6 separate regions of the Homo sapiens genome follow, and all the other regions are linked to region 1. The links are contacts of gene promoters, found by promoter capture Hi-C in human tissues and cell types (Jung and others, 2019). All regions are on one chromosome and are shown on one strand. Each heading gives the region's core, a stretch centred on a gene start or on the middle of the fragment in contact. The rest is flanking DNA. Distances are from core to core; before and after follow the strand shown.

The links. The method cuts DNA at HindIII sites, captures the fragments that hold promoters and counts their contacts. A contact is called where the count stands out against the background at its distance.
Region 2: a contact is called between the fragment with the promoter of TOR1B here and the fragment with the promoter of DOLPP1 in region 1, in 4 of the 25 tissues and cell types used here (heart right ventricle, lymphoblastoid cells, mesenchymal stem cells and 1 more).
Region 3: the fragment with the promoter of URM1 here is called in contact with the fragment with the promoter of DOLPP1 in region 1 in 1 of the 25 tissues and cell types used here (dorsolateral prefrontal cortex).
Region 4: a contact is called between the fragment with the promoter of ODF2 here and the fragment with the promoter of DOLPP1 in region 1, in 1 of the 25 tissues and cell types used here (spleen).
Region 5: a contact is called between the fragment with the promoter of PRRX2 here and the fragment with the promoter of DOLPP1 in region 1, in 1 of the 25 tissues and cell types used here (mesenchymal stem cells).
Region 6: a contact is called between a fragment that was not itself captured here and the fragment with the promoter of DOLPP1 in region 1, in 1 of the 25 tissues and cell types used here (hippocampus).

The regions. Positions count from the first base shown.
Region 1 is chr9:129,079,221-129,082,834 of GRCh38, forward strand. DOLPP1 (dolichyldiphosphatase 1) reads left to right here and starts at 1,891. Exons shown (of 8, transcript NM_020438.5): 1 at 1,891-1,987. The coding sequence starts at 1,912. RefSeq lists a silencer at 1,589-2,318. The HindIII fragment of the contact is 10,069 bases long and covers 1-3,614 here.
Region 2 is chr9:129,801,407-129,805,020 of GRCh38, forward strand. It overlaps TOR1B (torsin family 1 member B), which reads left to right and starts at 1,778. Exons shown (of 5, transcript NM_014506.3): 1 at 1,778-2,005; 2 at 2,667-2,932. The coding sequence starts at 1,807. RefSeq lists silencers at 1,858-1,987, 2,048-2,167. The HindIII fragment of the contact is 20,911 bases long and covers 1-3,614 here.
Region 3 is chr9:128,369,535-128,373,148 of GRCh38, forward strand. It overlaps URM1 (ubiquitin related modifier 1), which reads left to right and starts at 1,840. Exons shown (of 5, transcript NM_030914.4): 1 at 1,840-1,881. The coding sequence starts at 1,847. RefSeq lists enhancers at 147-1,011, 1,012-1,875, 1,939-2,038. The HindIII fragment of the contact is 22,131 bases long and covers 1-3,614 here.
Region 4 is chr9:128,454,358-128,457,971 of GRCh38, forward strand. ODF2 (outer dense fiber of sperm tails 2) reads left to right here and starts at 1,649. Exons shown (of 21, transcript NM_001351578.2): 1 at 1,649-1,898. The coding sequence starts at 1,735. RefSeq lists enhancers at 722-1,458, 1,332-1,421, 1,459-2,194, 1,552-1,601, 2,195-2,930 and 1 more and silencers at 1,822-2,131, 2,262-2,361, 2,392-2,541, 2,752-2,801. The HindIII fragment of the contact is 20,941 bases long and covers 1-3,614 here.
Region 5 is chr9:129,663,685-129,667,298 of GRCh38, forward strand. It overlaps PRRX2 (paired related homeobox 2), which reads left to right and starts at 1,963. Exons shown (of 4, transcript NM_016307.4): 1 at 1,963-2,442. The coding sequence starts at 2,184. The HindIII fragment of the contact is 13,961 bases long and covers 605-3,614 here.
Region 6 is chr9:128,547,009-128,550,622 of GRCh38, forward strand. The region is part of intron 1 of LOC101929270 (a long non-coding RNA gene); the gene reads right to left. Among named protein-coding and RNA genes, the nearest start is that of SPTAN1, 3.8 kb to the right of the region's middle. The HindIII fragment of the contact is 3,897 bases long and covers 59-3,614 here.

The DNA of each region.
Region 1 (3,614 bases), core at 641-3,140:
GATGTACCAGGCCCTGTCCTCATGTTGCCCAGGGTTTCTCCAGTGGTGGCTGTAACCACCTGTATCAGAACCACCAGAGCACATAAGAATGCAGACACCTGGGCTCCAACTCAGACCTACTGGATCAACCCAGGCCCCATTGTGACCCAGGAATCTGTGTTTTCTACAGGCTGATCTCAGCACTCCATGAATCTGAGAGCCGCTGCTGACTGGGAGGGATAGGGAGCCGATTACAGTCCAGTGAGGTCAGGGCTGAGAAAGGACAGGAAATGCAACCGTGAGAGCCCAGTACTGGCCCCTCACTTGACTGTGGAAACCTGTAAGCCGAGGAGACACCTGAACCAGATTGGGCCGGGCAAAGTAGGGCAGGAGAGGCAGTACATCCCACGCAGCAAAACAGCACATGGTGGCCAGGGGCGGTGGCTCACACCTGTAATCCCAGCACTTTGGGAGGCCGAGGTGGGCGGATCACGAGGTCAGGAGATCAAGACCATCCTGACCAACACGGTGAAACCCCGTCTCTACGAAAAGTACGAAAATTAGCCGGGCGTGCCACTGCACTCCAGCCTGGGCAACAGAGCGAGACTCCGTCTCAAAAAAAAAAAAAAAAAATTAGCTGGGCATGGCGGCTCACGCTTGTAATCTCAGCATTTTGGGAGCCGAGGCAGGTGGATCACCTGAGGCCAGGAGTTCGAGACCAGCCTGCCCAACATGGTAAGACCCGGTCTCTACTAAAAATGCAAAAATTAGCCGGATGCGGTGGTGCGCGCCTGTAGTCACAGCTACTCGGGAGGCTGAGACAGGAGAATCACTTGGACCCAGGAGGCTGAGCAAGATCGTTCCACTGCACTCCAGCCTGGGCCTCAGAGCAAGACCCTGTCTCAAAAAACAAACAAACAGACAAAAACAGCACATGCTAGCGGCAGGAGACAAGAGGCTGAGCCCTCCCAGCCCACCTTACCTGCACTGTAATCCAATCCAGCCAGAGACAGAGTCGGGTAGGAGAGGTGAAGGCGGGTGGGAAGGTGTGGCTGTTCACGCAGGAATGTCTTGGGAAAACTGAGGGGTAGGTGGAAAACCGACTTCTTGTTTGAAATGCTCCCAAGACGCCTCATTAAGTAGCATAGACGTGACTGAATCAATAAATCTTTATTAAATGAATGAAAGGAGGAAGGAGTCCTTAACTGTAGCTAAGCTTCCACTCTTAAGTATCAATTAAGCTTCTCTGTTCAGTCCAGCGTTTAGGGCGCCTACTGCGCGCCCCGCCCCACACACTTTTGACAAAAAGGTCGCCTGCTCTGTGTGACTTGCCCTTTCGCCGGCCAGTATGGGGCAGAGGGAAATAAGCCCCCTCTGCTCTCTGGTCTCAGTTTACTCGTAACTGAAAGTGGGTCGGTTCAAACCCCCTGGAGCTGAGGTTGCCTCTCCTCTTCGAGCACGCGCTATCGGACGCGCAGGTCCCCAAGACCGCGGATCGGCAGGGGGTACCAGGGAAGCCTTCATTCAGGGCGCAGGTCCCAGCCGAACCAAAGCTCCCACCAAAGTTCAACACGCCCCCAAAGCCAGCGCCTGATTGGCCCGCCCTGCCCACAAGCTGAGGCAGCCTCACCTTCTGATTGGCTGTTATGCTCCCTGTTCGGTGCTGGAACCCTCCCCTTCTCTGATTGGCCAGATGCCTACCTGCGCTCGCCCCAGATTGGGCGCCAGCTGGGGCGGCTCGTTGGCTCCCAGGGGCCCCGCTCTCTGATTCGCCGCTCGGGCCAGCCCCCACGGCCTGCACGCTGAATGGCTGCGCCGCTACCTATATTGGCCTCCGATTGGGTGCACGGCGCCTCCCCGGCGTGATAGGTCAGGACCACCGCCCCCCTGGCTCCCCATTGGCTGCTCGAAGAAGCCCGGTCTCCGGGTAAGATGGCAGCGGACGGACAGTGCTCGCTCCCCGCTTCATGGCGGCCGGTGACCCTCACCCACGTCGAATATCCTGCAGGTAAAAGGCGGTCCCGGCTCCAAGGACGCCTTCCCAGGGACGGCCTCTCAGTCCCGGGCGCTCCGGCCTGCTCGAGCCCGCGGAGGGGGCGCCGGGGGACCGGGGTGGGAACTGTCAAATAGTGAACCACGGAGGGGCTCGGCCGGCGCGCGCGCCGCGCAGGCGCAGTGGTGCGAGGATGAGCTGGGCGAAATTGTGAGGCGCTCGCTCGCGCACTCTGCGGCTGCGCGGCCAGGGCGCTCCCCCGGGTCCCGGGGCGCCGGTGGGCTGAAATGGGTTGAGGATCTGTGTGAGGCGAGAAAAGATCCCTGGCCTGGACCTTGGCCCTTCTTCCCCGCCCTCCCCTGTCCCAGAGAGGCCGCACTCCTGTTCCAGCGTGCAGGGAGTGTCTTGTTTCCTTCGAACAGTGCTTTGGGCTGCTTGTAAGAGAAAGAGCTCCCCGTTGCTGGGAGTGTGCAAGCCGAAGCCAGGCTTTTGAGTACTTGTGGTGCCACGCCCTGAGCAGGGCACGATTCCACAACAGAGAGGACCCGATGAGGGGGCGGGCAGCCTCCGGGAACTTGACTTCTGTTGCTTCCCATCAGACACACCTCTCGAAGTGCAGGGCTTTCCAGTTGAGAGGTCCATTAGCGGCGTTCTGGAGGCTGTCTAGTAAGAGTGGCGCAGAGCCTGGGCGTGGGGGTCAGACCCATCTGGGCTCCAGTTGAGGCTGAGGCCTTGTGCAGGTGCCTGCCTCTGCTTAAGTTAATTCATCTCTAAAGTGGGACTGATTACAGTGCTTACCTTCTGGTGATGGTATGAGCATCAAATAGCAGGAGGCACAAGAAGGGCTGAGTACAGTGCCCGGCATGCAGTAAGCGTTCAGTAAATACCTGCAGTTAATGTTATCCCACCTTGCAAGACCCTCCCTGGGTAAGATGGTTGAGTGCCAGGGAAGGCTGGAGCCCCTCATTGAGCCCTGGTTGCCTGGGAAGGGCCTGCTCATGCTGCTGTCTTGCGAGATGTGAGAACCTGGGTCCGCTGAGGGCACCAGGACTGAATGCCAAAGAACGTTGACGCTGGTGTTCTGGGTTGTACTGGGGGTGGTATGGCCCTGCCAGGTCCTGGGCCCTGCCTGCCTGCCTGTCTACCATTCATTCATCCATTCATTCATTCAGTCAATATCCACTGAACACTTCTGAGTGCTAGGCCCTGGGCTAGCTCTGGTTTTTAGAATGCTTAACAGGCCTGAAATATCCCTGCATTCCTGCACTATGAAAACCAGCTGCTTTATAAGAGGAAAGCCAAAGCCTGGAGGTGGGGAAAGACTTGCTAAGGCCTCTGCACCTTCACAGCTTCCCCTCCTGGCCTCAGAGTAGCTTCTTGGAGTGCTCACAATCCAACAAGCCAGAAGGAACCTGGCAGGCAGTTGTGTGCAGCATGATACAGGCTGTGATGGACCTGGCTGAGCCTGGAGCATCTGGTGAGGTCTAGTCCCCTATTAATGCTTCCATGGTTCCCTGCACTTCTCCGTCACACCCCTCTTCACACCGTCACTTGCTTACTTCATTCATTCAACAGTTTTTGAGCCCAGTTAAGAGCCAGGCCCTGTGCTGGGCTTGGGGGATAGAGTGGGATATAAAGAGAC
Region 2 (3,614 bases), core at 528-3,027, 720 kb after region 1:
CCGCCATGTGGAATCCTTTCAGTTCTCCAAACTGACTGTTGTTTTCTGCCTAAAACACTCTACTCATTTTTTGCCTGGCCTAACTCCCTCAGTGCCCAGCTTAGACAAAAGCCTTCCCTGTACCACTGTCCGATACTTCTCTGCCCACTCAGCATTGAGTCTCACCCCTTTGTCGGCCTCCCCCATAGACCGTCAGCTCTGAGAGGGCAGGGGCCAACTCCGTCCCCTCCTCTGCTGTCGTTCCTGGCATCCAGCAAGGGGCCTGCCACCTAGCGTGCTGAATGAAAGAATGGACCTCGGGATTTCAGTGTGGAAGCCTGGGCAGGTCTGTCTTGGGGCCGCTGCATCCCCAGTGCTCAGTCTAGGGCGCAGCACGGAGAGTTCGCAACTGTTTCAGGAAGAAGGCAGGCGGGTGGGCCGACCCAAGAAACGCACATTATACCTCCGGCGAAGTGAAGGGAGGGATAACAAAGCAAAGCTTGAGGGCTCCGAGAAGCTCTGAAGAAAACAAATCCAGCCATAAGCCCACTCCTGTAACCCCAGGCTTTGGAAGACGGAGGCAGGTAGATCGCTTGAGGTCAGGAGTTCGAGACCAGCTTGGGCCACATGGCGAAACCCCGTCTCTACTAAAAACACAAAAGTTGGCTGGGCGTGTTGGCGGGCACCTATAATCCCAGCTACTCCAGCAGCTGAGATGGGAGAATCGCTTGAACCTGGGAGGAAGAGTTTGCAGCGAGCCGAGATCCTGCCACTGCGCTCCAGCCGGGGCGACAGAGCCAGACCCTGTCCCCAATATACATATCAGATAAGAAAAAAATATAAGAAAGTTTAAAAAAATTTTTTTTGGCTTTTTTTTGTTTTTTTTGAGACGGAGTCTCGCTCTGTCGTCCAGGCTGGAGTGCAGTGGCACGATCTCGGCTCACTGCAAGCTCCGCCTCCCAGGTTCACGCCATTCTCCTGCCTCAGCCTCCCGAGTAGCTGGGACTACAGGCGCCCGCCACCATGCCCGGCTGATTTTTTCTATTTTTCGTAGTGATGGGATTTCACTGTGTTAGCCAGGATGGTCTTGATCTCCTGACCTCGTGATCCGCCTGCCTCGGCCTCCCAAAGTGCTGGGATTACAGGCGTGAGCCGCCGCGCCCGGCCAGCCTTTTTTTTTTTTTTTGAGACAGTTTCGCTCTTGTCGCCCAGGCTGGAGTGCAGTGGCACGATCTCGGCTAACTGCAACCTCCGCCTCCTGGGTTCAAGAGATTCTCCTGCCTCAACCTCCCGAGTAGCTGGGATTACAGGCGCCCGCCACCACACCCATCTAATTTTTTGTATTTTTAGTAGAGACGGGGTTTCGCCACGTTGAGCAGGCTGGTCTCGAACTCCTGACATCAGGTGATCCGCCCGCTTCAGCTTCCCAAAGTGCTGGGATTACAGGCGTGAGCCACGGCGCCCGGCCAAAAAAAAAAAATTTTTTTTTTTTTTTTTAGATATTTTTTCACTCTTGTTGCCCAGGCTGGAGTGCAATGGCGTGATCTCGGCTCGGCCTCCCAAAGTCCTGGGATTACAGGCGTGAGCCACCGCGCCCGGCCCGAAAAAATTTTTTTAAAAGAAAAGGGAAACAAAACAGTCTCCTACACCTTCGGACCACTCCCAAGAACGATGGCACCGCCCTCCTCTCCGCCCCTCACCAACATGGCCGCCCCCAAGGGAGTGGGCGGGTCTGCGGGGCGGAAGTGACGCACGAGAGGAAGTCCGTCCTGCCGCTTGGCCGCGGGGCGCCTGGCTCAGTGGCTTCTGCGGGCTTCGAGGAGCGGGATGTTGCGGGCTGGGTGGCTCCGGGGCGCGGCGGCGCTGGCGCTGCTGCTGGCGGCCCGAGTGGTGGCGGCGTTCGAGCCCATCACCGTGGGCCTAGCCATCGGGGCCGCGTCGGCCATCACCGGCTACCTGTCCTACAATGACATCTACTGCCGCTTCGCCGAGTGCTGCCGCGAGGAGCGGCCGCTCAACGCTTCGGGTACGGCGCGCGCGCGAGCTGTGGGTCGGCGCTGCGGGGGGCGCGGGGGCGCGGGGGCGCGGAGGGACGGCCTCGTGGGCGCCTGGCACGGACCGGGCCCGTGGCATCTAGACGGCGGTGGTCCCAGCTGGGGTGGGCGGGGAGCGGATGGGGCGGCCCCGGAACCGTTCGCGGGAACGCAGAAGCGGTGCCTTCGCAAACAGTCTCCAGATCGTGGGGCTGCCCCAGCGCCTTTCTAAAGCTCCCGTTCCTTGGGATCACAGGTGGAAGAAACGGAAAGTAGGCGGGCGGCCCTTCTGCGCCCTGCCAACCCTATTAAGTAGTTTTCAGACGTGCTGCGTCGCCCAGAAAGCCCACATTTGGCCCCTGGTTTTCCTGCAGGTCAGCAAGGGTGGCTGGGATTAGCAAGCGCTCAGTCAAGCGATGGTTCATCTCTGAATGAATGAACATTTAGCTTCCTTATCAGACCCCGAAGCGTTAAGGACCTCCACATAATCTTGAAAGTGGCATCGTTTGACTGCCTCGGCCCTAGGGTGTGGCAGACACCCTGCTGTGTCCCTGGATAATCTGTGCTTCTTGCTTTGGCCAGCTAAGAAAGTGCTGCGTTGCTGATGCATTTTTAAGGTCTGTTTCTCTCTTTGTTCTGGGGCTGTTCTTGCAGCTCTCAAGCTGGATTTGGAGGAGAAGCTGTTTGGACAGCATCTAGCCACGGAAGTGATTTTCAAGGCGCTGACTGGCTTCAGGAACAACAAAAATCCCAAGAAACCACTGACCCTTTCCTTACACGGCTGGGCTGGCACAGGCAAGAATTTTGTCAGTCAAATTGTGGCTGAAAATCTTCACCCAAAAGGTCTGAAGAGTAACTTTGTCCACCTGTTTGTATCGACTCTGCACTTCCCTCATGAGCAGAAGATAAAACTGTACCAGGCAAGAGAACCCGCTATTATCTCGTCTGCAGGCCAGTCGGACTGGTCCGGGTGACCTGCTCACTAACTCTGGCCTCTGCTTCTCTTTCCTTTGTGTTGCTGTAGCCCCCGGCTCCACTGAGTTAAGGCACACTTAGTCCAGGTAGTTACAAAGCTCTCCTACAACATTTCTCTTACTTGGTTCCAAAACAGTCCAGTGGGGTAGGGGATGTTATTTCCATTAAAAGATGGGGAGCCAAGGGCCTGGCGCCGTGGCTCACGCCTGTAATCCCAGCATTTTGGGGAAGCCGAGGCGGGCGGATCATTTGAGGCCAGGAGTTTGAGACCAGCCTGGCCAACATGGTGAAACCCCATCTCTACCTAAAAGTACCAAAATTACCTGAGCACGGTGGCACGCACCTGTAATCCCAGCTACTTGGGAGGCTGAGGCAGGAGAATCGCTTGAACCTGGGTGGCAGAGGTTGCAGTGAGCTGAGATCGCGCCACCGTACTCGGTCTCAAAAAAAAAAAAAAAAAAAAGGCCTGGCACAGTGGCTCACGCCTGTAATCCCAGCACTTTCGGAGGCCGAGGGGGGCGGATCACGAGGTCAGGAGATGGAGACCATCCTGGCTAACACGGTGAGACCCCGTCTCTACTAAAAATACAAAAAATTAGCCGGGGATGGTGGCGGGCACCTGTTGTC
Region 3 (3,614 bases), core at 590-3,089, 710 kb before region 1:
TAGGCTACACCATCATCCTCTACCAATGCTGAGTTCAGTTTTGGAAGTGTTGGTGTTTAGATACCCATAGGCCGTCTACTTCATTCCATTTCTTTTTTTTAGCGTCTCACTCTGTCGCCCAGGCTGGAGTCCAGTGGCACGATCTCGGCTCACTGCAACCTCTGCTGCTTCCTGGGTTCAAGGGATTCTCCTGCCTCTGCCTCCAGAGTAGTTGGGATTACAGGAGACTGCCACCATGCCTGGCTAATTTTTGTATTTTTAGTAGAGACAGGGTTTCACCATGTTGGCTAGACTGGTCTTGAACTCCTGACCTCGTGATCCGCCCATCGTGGCCTCTCGAAGTGCTAGGATTACAGGCATAAGCCACTGTGCCTGGCCAACTTCATTCCATTTCTGCCCTGGGCTTTTTTTTTTTTTTGAGACAGAGTCTTGCTCTGTCACCAGGCTGGAGTGCAGTGGCTCGATGTCAGCTCACTGCAACCTCCACCTCCCGGGTTCCAGCGATTCTTCTGCCTCAGCCTCCCGAGTAGCTGGGACTACAGGCGCACGCCACCACATCCAGCTAATTTTTGTATTTTTTTAGTAAAGACAGGGTTTTGCCATGTTGGCCAGGATGGTCTTGATCTCTTGACCTCGTGATCCGCCTGCCTCGGCCTCCCAAATTGCTGGGATGACAGGCGTGAGCCGCCGCGCCCGGCCTGCCCTGAGCCGCCGCGCCCGGCCTGCCCTGAGCTTTTGCAACAGGCTCCAGTGGTCTCCGTGTCTCTTTCCTTATTCCCCTCAAATCATTCTCCATATTGCAGCCAGAAATTATATTTTAAAACACAATTCTAAAATGTCACTGTCTCCCAAAACCCTTCAGTAGTCTCCCACTGCTCCTAGAGACTGAAATGTTTACCTGCTTACAAGGCAGGGGTTGGCCCCTGAGCACCTTTGCAGCTCCCTCTCTAGATGGATGAAAGTCAGGCTCCCTAACTTCCACCTTCCTCTCCATGTTCCAGCATGTTCTCACCCAGAGCCTCTGGGCCTTTTGTCCTCCTCACTGGAATGCTCCTAGAGGTTTCTCTCCCCTCACAGCCACCTAGTTTACTCAGGTTTTAGAGCCCAGCAAGTCCAGTCTACTCAGTTTTCTTTTTGAAGTTCCTATAACTTCAGTTCCTTTATTTAAGTTTGAGGTTGTACATGTCTTAGTATGCTTATTTGATTACAGTTAGTCTCCCCGCTAGACTGTGAGTGCCCTAAAGGCAGGAACCTTGCCCATCCCCTTTACCACTAGCACCGATCAAAATGCCTGGCACAGGGAGGCGCAATGAACAGCTGTTGAACGAGTGACTTCCAAATCGACAGCAAAGGGGGCGGCTGGATAGCGAGTCGCCCGCTCAGGAGAGATTCTGGGTCGGAAATAAAGATCTGGGAGTCATTTATAATTCCAACCAGACGAGTAGATGGGCTGGCCCAAGCGGTGTGTAGACTGAAGAGATTCTAACTCATGCAAGATAAGCAGCTACGTGGCTCACGGTCACGTCGCAAAAAACCTGGGGGCTCTCCTCCGCCTGCTTGTGGTCCCGTACAAGGCGCTTCCCACCCTGGGTCTCTGAGCCCAGTCGGTGAAAGACGGAAGGAGACCGATTCACAGCCCCAACAGCGCCGGTGATAGTCCCTCTGCCACCCCTTTCCCTCCGCTGCCCTCCCCTCCCCTCCCCTCCCCTCGATGACTTCCTCCAACAGCTGACGAAGCTGGATCCCTGGGCACCGCCTCTTCCGTCCGCGGCACCCGGAGACGCCCGGAAATTTGCGGGCGCGCCGGAAGTTGAGGGGAGTTTCCTGCGAGCTCGGCTTCCTCAACATGGCTGCGCCCTTGTCAGTGGAGGTGGAGTTCGGGTGAGTCACAGAGCTGGGGCGCCGTGGGGATGGATTGAAGTCGTCGGGCCCAGAATTCCTTTCCTTCTGCCGTGGGGCCTGACACGGCCGAATCACTGGGTGTCCCAGTGCCCGCTGTGAGCTACGCTACCCGCCTAGGAGAGTCTGAGAGGCCAGTCTCTCTTGGCAGTGAGGCCGTCTGTCCGGAAATAGAGGCGCACATTGGGAGGGAAATGCTCTCTGTGTACCACTCGGTGCCCTGTGCTCCGCCGGAGTCGGAGGTCGTGACTGTTAGCAGGCAGCCTCTCTCTCTTCTTTTCCATTCCTATCTCGGACCAATCCCATCTGTTTGGCATCTGAGCTCCTAGAACCTAGAAGGACCACCCTCCACCCGCTGATTTCATTCTTTGGGCAGCAGTTTCTTTTTACACTGTTATTAAGGTCTTGTTTCTCGTGGGATGTAGTGGCCAGGGCGGGACTTTTTTCTTTTTCTTTCCTAAGACTTGGGGATGGTAAACAGACCTGAGCCTCCTTCAGGACAGTCAGTAAACTTGCTGATTGCCTTCTGCAGAACTGGAGTCAGGTGGAGACACGGGGACAAATAAGAAATCACACTGAAGGGAACTAACAGGGACAGTATAGTATACACAAGATGAAAAATGCAGAGATTGGGACACACACCAGTTACTGAAGAAACACAGAGCAGGGAGGAAGTCTACCCAAGGCACTATTTGTGCTTCCTACAAACAGGTTTGTCATATGGTTTCAAAGCTGAGGGAAACTGCAGAGCTTAGAGAGAAGGCAAAGAAACAGGCCTTGAAAGATGGGTGGTGTACTTTACAGTATCACGTGGAAAAGAGGAAATAGGTAGGGATGTGTGTGTGTGTGTGTGGAATAGGTAGGTGTGTGTGTGTGCCTGTGTGTGTGTAGATAAGCCAAGGTCTATGTGACAGGAAAAGTCTGGGATGGGAATCTAAAACCTCTGCCCAGTGCCTTTCTTCTCATTGGATGCCTCCCATTTCTTTCATGTTTTCCCTTAATTGGGTAGTTCATTCACCAGCCATTTATTGAGTGCCTACCATGTGCCGGGCAGCAAGCCAGACACTGAGGATACAAAGATAAATAGAAGTCTGTCCGTGCCCTACAGCGTTCAGCATTTCTGCCCCTTAGAAGGGGGGTAAGTCTCATGACTAAGTGCATTTTAATTGATATTGTCTGGCTGCTTGGATCCAATTAGAACTGTATTGGTCTGGACTCCTCACTGTTTTGCCTCACTGACCCTTGGCCCAGCTACACTCCCCAAAGCCTGGGATTCTAGGAGGATCCCTGCTTCCTTGACAGGCCTCAGCAGAGCTGGAAAGAGAGAAGCCACAGACTGCTGTGTTAAGATTTATCTGGGCCAGGCATGGAGGCTCATGCCTGTAATCCTAGTACTTTGGGAGGCTTGGGCAGGAGGACTGCTTGAGCCCAAGAATTCGAGACCAGCCTTGGCAACATGGGGAGACTTCATCTCTACCAAAAAAAAAAAAAAGAAGATTTATCTGCAGACAACTTGCCTTTCATCCTCATGAGTCAGACATGGTCTTTGTTTATCAACAATGTCTCTGCTAGGTACTGTGCTAGCTCAGTGGGGAAGTCATGTGAGGAAGATGGGGCCATTGCTCTCCAGAGCTTACAAACCAGCACAATTGCCCTTTTTCTGACCCAATCATCTCTAACTTCAGTCTCCCTTACCTCCAAGAGCAATAATGACC
Region 4 (3,614 bases), core at 399-2,898, 630 kb before region 1:
TGTGGTACCTGTGTACCTACTGCAGTCTGTTTAGAATTCCCTTTGCTGCTTGTTTGGCGAACTTCCACTCACCTTTCATGGCTCAGTTCCAATACCATCACCTCTGGGAACCATCTCCTGCCTGCCCCAGGAGGACCGGGACCTCCTTTTCCTGTCCTCTTTTCCTTGAACCTGTATATACTTTTTTTTTTTTTTTTTTTTTTTTGAGACAAGAGTCTCACTCTGTCACCCAGGCTGAAGTGTAGTGGTGATTTTGGCTCACTGCAACCTCCGCCTTCCAGGTTCAAGGAATTCTCCCTGCCTCCTCCTCCCTAGTAGCTGGGATTACAGGCACACACCACCATGCCCGGTTAATTTTTGTATTTTTAGTAGAGACGGGGTTTCGCTATGTTGGGCAGTCTGGTCTTGAACTTCTGACCTTAGGTGATCCGCCTGCCTCAGCCTCCCAAAGTGCTGGGACTACAGGCGTGAGCCACCGCAGTCTTAAATGGTTAATGAGGATTAGGAAATCTATCAATTATTCAACAGAGAGACAATGAATGGATCAAGGGATTGGGGAGCTCCCTGACATTACAGAACAAATTCAGTATGCAGTATACTGTGAAAGCGAGGCGGAAAAGCAGGTTTTGTTTGCGAGTCTGACTTTAGGATTGCAGGTGAAACACTTGTGTGACCCTGGAGCTGTGTGGCTAAGGTGCTGCGGGGTCACTGGAGAAAGGTCAAGGGACTGTGGCCCAGTTGGCCCGGAGGTGGTTCAGGTCTCCCAGATTCCAGGGCGGCATTATGAGCCACGTGACAGACCTCCCCTGACTGGCTGACAGTGAAGCATAATTGAGAAGATGGCGGACCAGCAAGGACCTCATCAGAATAGGTCTGTACACAGAGCGGCATAGAGAGTGCAGGAGGGTAGTAGACCGGGCGCGGAGGCTCAAGCCTGTAATACAAGCACTTTGGAAGGCCGAGGCGGGTGGATCATGAGGTCAGGAGATGGAGACTATCCTGCCCAACACGGTGAAACCCCGTCTCTACTAAAAATACAAAAAAAAATTAGCCGGGCGTTGTGGCGGGCGCCAGTAGTCCCAGTTACTCGGGAGGCTCAGGCAGGAGAATGGCGTGAACCCGGGAGGCGGAGGTTGCGGTGAGCCGAGATCGCGCCACTGCACTCCAGCCTGGGCAACAGAGCAAGAATCTGTCTCAAAAAAAAAAAAAAAAAAAAAAAAAAAAAAAAAAAAAAAAGTGCAGGAAGGTAGTGAACAGAACAGCAAGGGGAATGCCGACCCTTTCTCCTGTTGGGGCCAAGACAGAGGCGATGTGGGCAGGGGAGAGGCCGGGGAATGCGCAGAAGCCGACTCCATCTCCGCATTAATAGTGGACTAGGGGCAGGGCTGGATTTTCGGAGGCAGTGTGCAGCTCCCAATAACTAGTTCCATGGGTCCTCTGTGAGCCTAGTTTCCTGGTGGGTACCGAGGGGAGGGCGTCGGAACCGTACGCTCCTTTGAGTGAGGGGAATCCGGGAGGATCCAAGGCAGGGGAAACAGGGCCGAGCGGGAAAGGCCTTGAATGGGGGGCGAGACCCGGCCAGGCCCGCTGGACGCGTAGCACGTCTCCTTGGTGACGGGACGCGTGGCCCGGAAGTGGGCGGCCCTTCTGGCGGGGCGGGGCATCTCTGTGACGCTAGGGGCTGGGCCTCGATGGCGAAACCCAAGCGGCTCCCGGGGGGGTTTGAACTGGCCAATGGGCGAGCTGCCGACCGGGTGTCGGAAAAGGAGGCGGAAGCGGGGAGGAGCCGCTGCCAGAGCCAGACTGCATCCGCCGCGGCGTCTCCATGGCACGACCCTGGCCTCCGACTTCAACGACTTCATAAGGCGGCGTTTCTGGGCGCAGCCGTGTCGCTCCTGGTGAGAGGCCGCCGGCAGGCGGGATCCAGCGCCCTCCGGGGCACCGCGGGCGAGACCGTCGCCTTCGCACCCCCGGCGCGGTCGACCCCGCGGGGCCGTCGGGTCCTGGGTTCCCCGCCGCGTTGCGCTCGTCCCCCTCCTGTCAGAACCTGGGCCCCCGCCCCGCCCACCGGCGCGGGGCCTCTCCTCCTCCCGCTAACGGGCGGTCGGCCGCCTCCTTCCTCTCTTGGCTACCACGGGGCTCTGCCCCTCCTCTGCCGCCCGCGGGCAGGGCTTCACCTTTCTCTCTATGGGCAGAAACCGGTACCCTCCTGCCTGCTGGTGGGTGGCCGTCCCTTCTCTCCGCCGACAGAGGCTCTCCCTCGCTCTGCTGCCCGTCGGCGGCATCGCCCCGACCGCCTCGTCCTCTCCTCGGGCCTCCACATGGCAGTCACTTGTACGCCCTCCGTAGGCAGCGCTGTCCCCCGGGCACCGTCTCCGGCTTGCCAGGGCCCTCGCCCGGCGGGGGGGGGTCCCGCCCGCCCCCTCCCAGCCCGGCGTCTATCCTGCTCAGAACTCTGTTCGGTTTTCCCTCGCGGCGGGGCGCCCGGGGCCCGTGCAACCTCCGCGCCTCCCTCCTTTAAACACTATTGGTCCTCTCGGGCATCTGTTCTTCCGTAACGCCCCTTCTCCTAGGAGACAGTTGTCCGGCCCCGCCCCAGCATCCCCGCGGCTCCCTGCGCGGTTCTGGCCCTCTGGGGCCCACTTGGGGCCGAGCGGTTCTCACCCGCCCTCTCCGCACGTCCGCCGGCGCCTCAGGTTTCCCCCGGTAGCCACCGGCAGTCCTCCGCGTGGGACCCGGGCGCGGTGGTCCTTTCCCTCGCGGTTCTGCCCCGTCCCCTCCCCTTCCTCCCCTCTGCCCCCAGGTCGCTCAGCCTCTACTATTTCCCCCTACTTTGGCAGGACAGTTGCTGTGCGACTTGGACAGTAGAGGAGCGCCTCCCAAGTTTTCATCCAACTGCCAACCCCAAAGCTTCCACCCTTCTCCCCTCAGAGAGGACGTTTGATGCCGGGCCCCTTGAGAGGCTCATTGACAAGCCTGCCCCTCTGGGTCCCCCTGAGCAGAGCCTGCTGACCCAATTGCCCACCTTTGCGGCTTTGATGCCTAGCCATGTCTGCCTCATCCTCAGGCGGCTCCCCCAGGTATTGCCGATGTGGGAGGCGCCTGCGCCGGAGGGCAGGGAAAGGTGGCCAGGGGTCCCCAGGGCAGGCTCGCCTGAGGCTTCCAGCTTCCTCATTGTGTTTGCTGAAAGTCTGGACCAAAACGTTTAAAAATCGTTTTTAAAGGGAAGGGGGAACGAAATGTATACACAATCCTAGCTCTACCTCCCTCGCTCCTTCCCTCCCCAGATGTCACAGCTTCCTGGAAGCAAACAGGGTCACTCTTGTTGTCTTTATATAATAGAGTACTAGGTTCAGAGCCTTTTTGAAGGGAGTCGAGGTGTAAATAAATAACACGTAGGAGGTGGATGTGGCAGTTAGCAAGATAATGGAATCCAGGTGGTTTGACAAGAAACCCACTGAGAGATTTCCCAAAGCTATTGGCTTTACGTGAACAATGTTCTAAATGATTAGGGAAAAAAGCCTGTCTTCTCAGTTTTGGTATTCCTTGGCTAAAGGATCAGTAGAGGTCTATATATATATATATATTTTTTTTTTTTCCCCTCTTTTTAAAAT
Region 5 (3,614 bases), core at 713-3,212, 580 kb after region 1:
GAAAGTGGTTCAGCCACACACACTGTGGGCAGCACTGGGTATGCCCTGGTGCCCAGACTGGGCTCCTCCCAGCCGCCTAGGATGAGGGAGACTGGCGCCTCTTTGCTGGCCTTTCTTGCTGGACACTCCTTGGAGCAGAGGTCCAAGGACGGAGAACCCCGTCATCTCCAAACCCTCCCTACCCATGTGTGCACCTGCACGGATTGCTGTGGCTAAAGACACTTCAGGGACACTCGGCCTCATTTTTTAAATTATTATTTCTTATTTAATTTAATTTATATATATTTTTTGAGATGGAGTTTCACTCTTGTTGCCCAGGCTGGAGTGCAATGGCGTGATTTCGGCTCACTGCAACCTCCGCCTCCCAGGTTCCAGCTATTCTCCTGCCTCAACCTCCCCAGTAGCTGGGATTACAGGCGCCTGCCACCATGCCCAGCTAATTTTTTTTATTATTATTATTTTTAGTAGAGACAGGGTTTCACCATGTTAGCCAGGCTGGTCTCGAACTCCTGACCTCAGGTGATCCACCCACCTCAGCCTTCCACAGTGCTGGGATTACAGGCGTGAGCCACTGTGCCCGGCCTACTCGGCCTCATTTTGAAGTCGATTCCTTTCCAGCGCGGGAGGGGGTGGGGGCGGACACAAACAACACACGCTGTGAGGATTAATGTATTATAATGTATTGCTAGGCTTTCCTTAAAAATAGTGTTCCCGGCTGGGTGCGGTGGCTCACGCCTGTAATCCCAGCACTGTGGGAGGCCGAGGCAGGTGGATCACCTGAGGTCAGACGCTGGAAACCAGACTGGCCAACATGGTGAAACCCCTCCTCTACTAAAAATACAAAAATTACCCGGGCATGGTGATGCACACCTGTAATCCCAGCTACTCGAGAGGCTGAGGCAGGAGAAGCGCTTGAAGTCAGGAGGCGGAGGTTGCAGCGAGCCGAGATCACGACACTGCACTCCAGCCTGGGCGACAGAGCCAGACTCTTGTCTCAAAAAAATAAAAATAAATAATAATAATAAATAATAAATAAAAATAATGGTCCGCAGGCTTTCAGGGATGTGTGCGGGCCGGTTTTCCATATGGGAACAGGGAAAGGATGTGCTGAAGGCTTCCTCCGGTAGGCGACTTTGGCTGATGTGACTTTATGCCTCGTAGTGAGGGCAGGGCGACAGAGGGACGGGCCGGTGAGCGGCTGTCCTGGAGAAAGAGCAGTGGCATCCGGGGGGCTTAGGGTCTCAGGTCTGCTCACTCCGCACATCTTTTCTGTGCTTTCATTGAAAAACAAAACTGAAACAAGAGCGGACACCTAAGTCTGCCTCTCTCTTTCCTGTCACCCGTCTCAGGCTGGCTGTCCTCTGTGTGTGCGCCAGGAATTCTGCAACGAAGCGCCTGCCTCTCCGCTTGGTTTTCCTTGGGGAAGGGCCTGGGGCCTCCTGGGGGGTGGGCACCGGGTGTGTGGGTGTGTGTGGGGGACCTGGCAGGGAGCAGCGGGGGAGAGGCGGGGTGGGGGGTCGCGTACACCCCAGGAGCCTGAGGATGCGCTGCCTGCTGGGAGAGACAGCCTTGGGGCGGGTGGTGTGCACAGAGCTCTGTCGGCCAGCGCGGGCGGGCGGGGCCGTTGTTGGGGGCGCTGAGGCGAGTGAGGCTGGAGCTGGGAGTGGGGGGCTCGTCGCCTTCGTCTCTGGGCCGCCCCCTCCACCTGCGGAGGCGATTGTAAAGGGAAGGGGGGAATCCCTCTGCCATCACCTCCCAGATACTTGGGGGATGGAAAACGACAAAACACGGAACCTCCCACTCCCTAAAAAGTGGGTGGGGAGGGTGAAGGGAGGACACCCCTTCCCCGCCCCCAGCGCCAGCAGCCGGGGTGGGGGCGGGCGAGGCGCGCGGGGAGGAGAGGGCGGAGGAGAGGACGGGGGGCGAGGTTTGCTTCAAGAAGGGGCGTGTGGCCGGCGCAGCGCGTGCACCAGCGGCTCCGGAGCGAGCGGCCGTGGCTGAGAAGGGGAGGGCGGAAAGTTTGTTTCCCCGACGTCAGCGCCGGGCGGGCCGCGAGGCTAGGAGGCGGCGGGAGCTGGGCAGAGCGCGGGGCGGCCGGGGCTCTCGCTCCGACCCGCGCCCGCGACCCTTCCTGGGACCCGAGCCCGAGACCCCCGCCGGCCCCCCCGGGGCCGCTCGCGGGCATGGACAGCGCGGCCGCCGCCTTCGCCCTGGACAAGCCGGCGCTGGGCCCGGGGCCGCCGCCGCCTCCACCCGCGCTGGGGCCCGGCGACTGCGCCCAGGCGCGCAAGAACTTCTCGGTGAGCCACCTCCTGGACCTGGAAGAGGTGGCGGCGGCCGGGCGGCTGGCGGCGCGCCCCGGGGCCAGGGCCGAGGCGCGGGAGGGCGCAGCACGGGAGCCGTCCGGGGGCAGCAGCGGCAGCGAGGCGGCGCCGCAGGATGGTGAGTACGGCCGGCCAGGGACGGGGGTGGCGGGGCCGGGGCCGGGGCCGGGGCCGGGGCGCGGGGTCCGGGGAGCCGGCGCGGGGCGGGCGAAGATGCAGGGCGCGTGGTCGGCGGCAGGACTTCTGGGGGCGCGTGTAAGTGACGGTGGACGGCGGTTGACCAGCACTCTGGGCTGGGGGAGGGGGACCCTCTTCGGGTCTTGGGGTGCGTCCCCACGGGGAAGTGCGCTGCCTTCGCTCCCCAGTATTCGGCTCCCGAACAGCCTGGGAAGTGGGTGTGGCTGCTGCCGGGTTACAACTGGGGAAACAGAGACCTGAGTCGGGCAAAGCCGCTGAGCTGCACGTTGGGGTTTCAAACCCGCCCCCTCCCGCACGAGCTAGCGCCGCCCCAGCTCCTCCTCGGTCTTAAGTTGGGCTCTTTGGGGGGCGAGGGTGCCTGCCCACCCCCCCCCACCCTCCAGTTTGCCCCGGGAGCAGCTGCCTCGGTGGAACGGCCCAGCCAGGCCTCTCTTCCCCGGCAGAGGTCAAAGGTCATCAGGAAGGGGCTTTAAAAACAAACAACCCACCCAAGTGGCCTTTTTCAAAAAGTGACACAGGATGGCAGGGTCCTGAGCCCTTGGTAAGAAGGGGAGGGACGGGGAGAAGATGGAGAAAAAGCAAAGGCCCCAGCCCCGGACGGTTCAGTGGGGGAGGGGAGGACCGGAGTCCTCGCGGCTCAGCACACACTAAGGATGGGGGCCCGGTGATCTGAAACCAGGCCCCTGTCCCCTAGCTCTGGGGATGGGCCGGCCTGCTGGGGGCTCTGGGCCCCTGAAGTGTGCCCGCCTGACTCCAGCAGCCCTCCCACCCGCCCCGGGGGACCCTGTTCCCGGCACCAGCCTCCAGGTCTCAGGGTGCCCAGGCTGGTGGCTGCGTTCCTTGGCTTTTCAGAGACAGGAGGTGCAGGGAAAACAGAGGTGGCTGCAGCCTAGTCTGAATCCATGTGCGTCCACGAGGACGCCTGCGACACGCCTGCCTTTCACGGGGCACCTTCTGCCAGCCTGTGGCTGAGATGAAGCCACTGGCTCCCTCATGGCAGCGGCCACCACTCACTGGCCACAGTGGACTGGCCACTGGCTGCACCCTCCGGGGTGAGTGTGAAGCCAGCAGACCTCCCAGGAGTTGGGGTTT
Region 6 (3,614 bases), core at 757-3,256, 530 kb before region 1:
AAAAAAAGGGCTTGATAGTCAAATAAGTTTGGCAAGTAATTTTTTTTTTTTTTTTGAGACGGAGTCTCGCTCTGTCGCCAGGCTGTAGCGCAGTGGCACAATCTTGGCTCACTGCAACCTCCACCTCCCAGGTTCAAGCGATCCTCCTGCCTCAGCCTCCCACGTAGCTGGGACTACAGATGCACGCCACCACACCCAGCTAATTTTTGTATTTTTAGTAGAGACGGGGTTTCACCATGTTGGCCAGGATGGTCTACATCTCTTGACCTCGTGATTTGCCCACCTCGGCCTCCCAAAGTACTGGGATTACAGGTGTGAGCCACTGCGCCCGGCCTGAAAATACTATGTTAAAGGTGAAGTAATCAATGATTACTTACCTACTTGGCAGAATGGGCCAGGTGTGGTGGCTCATGCCTGTAATCCCAGCACTTTGGGAGGCCAAGGCGGGCAGATCACCTGCGGTCAGGAGCTCAAGACCAGCCTGGCCAACATGGTGAAACCCTGTCTCTACTAAAAATACACAAAAATTAGCTGGGTGTGGTGGCAGATGCTTGTAATCCCAGCTATTCGGGAGGCTGAGGCAGGAGAATCACTTGAACCCGGGAGGCGGAGTTTGCAGTGAGCTGAGATCATGCCATTGCACTCCAGCTTGGGCAACAAGAGCGAGACTCAGTCTCAAAAAAACAAACAAGAATGGCAGAATGTTGATAACTGTTGGAGCTGGGTGACAGGCCTATGGAAGTTCACTGTATTAGGGTCCCCAGAGAAACAGACCAATAGGAGACGGATGGATGGACAGGGATATGATGAGATTTAATTACGAGGAATTTATTCATGAGATTATGGAGACTGAGAAGTCCCACAATCTGCCATCTGCAAGCTGGAAACCCAGGAAAGCTGGGGTTGAAATTCTAGTCTAGAGACGAGGTTTCATCATGTTGGTCAGGCTGGTCTCGAACTCCTGACCTCAGGTGATCCACCCTCCTTGGCATCCCAAAGTGCTGGGATTACAGGCGTGAGCCACTGCGCCCAGCCTATAATTCTTACTTAAATGGACTGAGTACCATTCATGTAACCTAAAATTCAGTAACACTTCAAATATTTTCTCAAGTCAATAAGTATTATATCATGAATATAGTCTTGAATTTATGAATCGTAATTAATCATTTTTCACTTGGTGACTAGGTTATGCCTAATATATTTTTTTAAATTATTAACATTCTTTTTTTTTTTTTTTTTTTTTTTGAGACAAGGTCTCACTCTATTGCCTGAGCTGGAATGCAGTAGCACAGTCATGGCTCACTGCAGCCTTGACCTCCCGCGCTTAGGTGATCCTCCCACAGCCTCCTGAGTAGCTGGGACTACAGGCGCAAGCCACCACATCTGGCTAATTTTTGCATTTTTTTGTAGAGATGGGGTTTTGCCATGGTGCCCGGGCTGGTCTTAAACTCCTGGGCTCAAGTGATCTGCCTGCCTCAGCCTCCTAAAGTGCTGGGATTGCAGGTGTGAGCCACCACGCCCGTCCTGAATGAAAATGCATCTTGTCCTGCTTAAGGCAGATTTCTAGATGTAACTAACATTGCTGGGTCAAATGGCATGCAAATTTTATATTTTGATCCACATTGCCAACTGCTCTTCCAGAAAGGTTCTACTTACATATACTCAAAATGGGTAAGATTTTCAGGCAGAAAGGAGGCATGAGTGTTGGGAAAGGATGTTCTAATTGGAGGAAAAAATTGTTCACAAAAGCATGGAGTTGGAGAAATAACATGTTTTGGAAAGAGGCTAACCTCAGACCAGTAGAGCAGAACTGTAGGGAATGATGCTGTGAAAAGGTAAATTGGAACAAGATTGTGGAGGCTGCAAATTTCGGCCTATTCCGTAGGCAATGGGAAACAACTGAAACTTGTTGAGAAGGTTTGACGTGATTTGTGAAACTAACTGTAGTAGTGGGTTCAAGGTAAGCAGGAGGGACACGGACTGACCAGGCCTAGCAGGCAGCCCTGCAAGGGAACAGATGTGAAATGACCGGAGCCAGATTACAAGGTCGGATTAGGGGAGGGGAGGGAGGAGTTTACATCTCTGCTGTCACCTGGAGTCTTAAAACCCTGGTAAGGCCACACTCCCAGAGCCTATCAGGCTGCTTCTCTAATGTGGTGCTTGATTTTAGAAGCAGGGGCTTGTGTTTTGCTTTGTCTTTTGATTGTAGTAAAATATATAGAACATAAAAAGTTTAACCTTTTTTTTTTTTTTGAGACGGAGTCTCAATCTGTCGCCCAGTCTGGAGTGCAATGGCGCGATCTTGGCTCACTGCAACCTCCGCCTCCCGGGTTCAAGCGACTCTCCTGCCTCAGCCTCCCGAGTAGCTGGGATTACAGGTGTGCACCACCACACCCGATTAATTTTTGTATTTTTAGTAGAGGCAGGGTTTCACCATGTTGGCCAGGATGGTCTCAAGCTCCTGACCGCAAGTGATCCGCCCGCCTCAGCCTCCCAAAGTGCTGGGATTACAGGCGTGAGCCACCAAGCCCTGCCTAACCATTTGTAAGTGTACAGTTCTGTGGCATTATGTACAGTCACAGTGTTGTGCAACCATCACCACCATCCTCTCCAGAACTCTCTTTCACCATCCCAGACGGAAACTTTCCCACTAAACAATAATAACCCATTCCTCCCTCCCCTCAGACCCTGGTAACAACAGTTTTTTCTGTCTCTATGAATCTGACAATTTTAGGGATCTCATATAAGTGGAATGGTCATACAGTATTCATCCTTATGTGTCTGGCGTATTTCACTTAGCATAAAGCCTTCAAGGTTCATCCAGGCACTGTGATTTGAAGAGCTGTGTTATTTCTTGCCAGCTCTGACACTGCAGAATGTCATATGGGAAGTGCAGTCCACTTGCCAGCATGACTCTTCCCAATCAGCTCCCTTCTAGGGAAGAAAAATAGTGGAAGTGCTTGCCTGTTATCTTTGCAGGGGGTGAGACAGGGTGTGGAGGGGAGGGGAGGGGAAGGGGTCTCTCCCAGGGAGAGTGGGCAAGTGACTTTCCCTGGCTGGAACATATGGACACATCACCACAATTAGTGTGTTTTCCAACAGTTGACCTTTTCAACAACCTGAAAAAGTATTGGGACTATCTAGACGCTTAAGCTTAGGGTGCCTATCAAACCTTCTGAGGATTGCTGAAACTAGAAAAAGGAGTTGAGAATTCAGTCCAACCCTCTGCTTTTTAGGAGGCCAGGAGAGGTGTGACTGAGAACATGGAGTTGATTGGTTACAAAGTCGTTACACTGTCCTGTGCTTTTTCTGTTGTTGTTTTTTCCCCCAGCTTTCCACACCTACTAGGGTGTTAGGCATATGGTGAAACTGGTGGGAGGTGAGGTAGGCAGACAACAGAACAGTGAAGAATGGCTGGTTTCAAGTGCCAAGTGCAGAGAAGGCAGGGTGAGTGGGTGGGAGGTGGAGAGCGCTGGGGATACTGTTTCTTGGTCATGTCTCAGATCACACAAAGAATCAAATAAGATTTTAGTTTCTCTATCAATACAGAGCTCTCTCTTAGGTCTCCATTTTGCATCCAGCAAAAGCAGCAGAACCCCCAGTTCACTATGGGG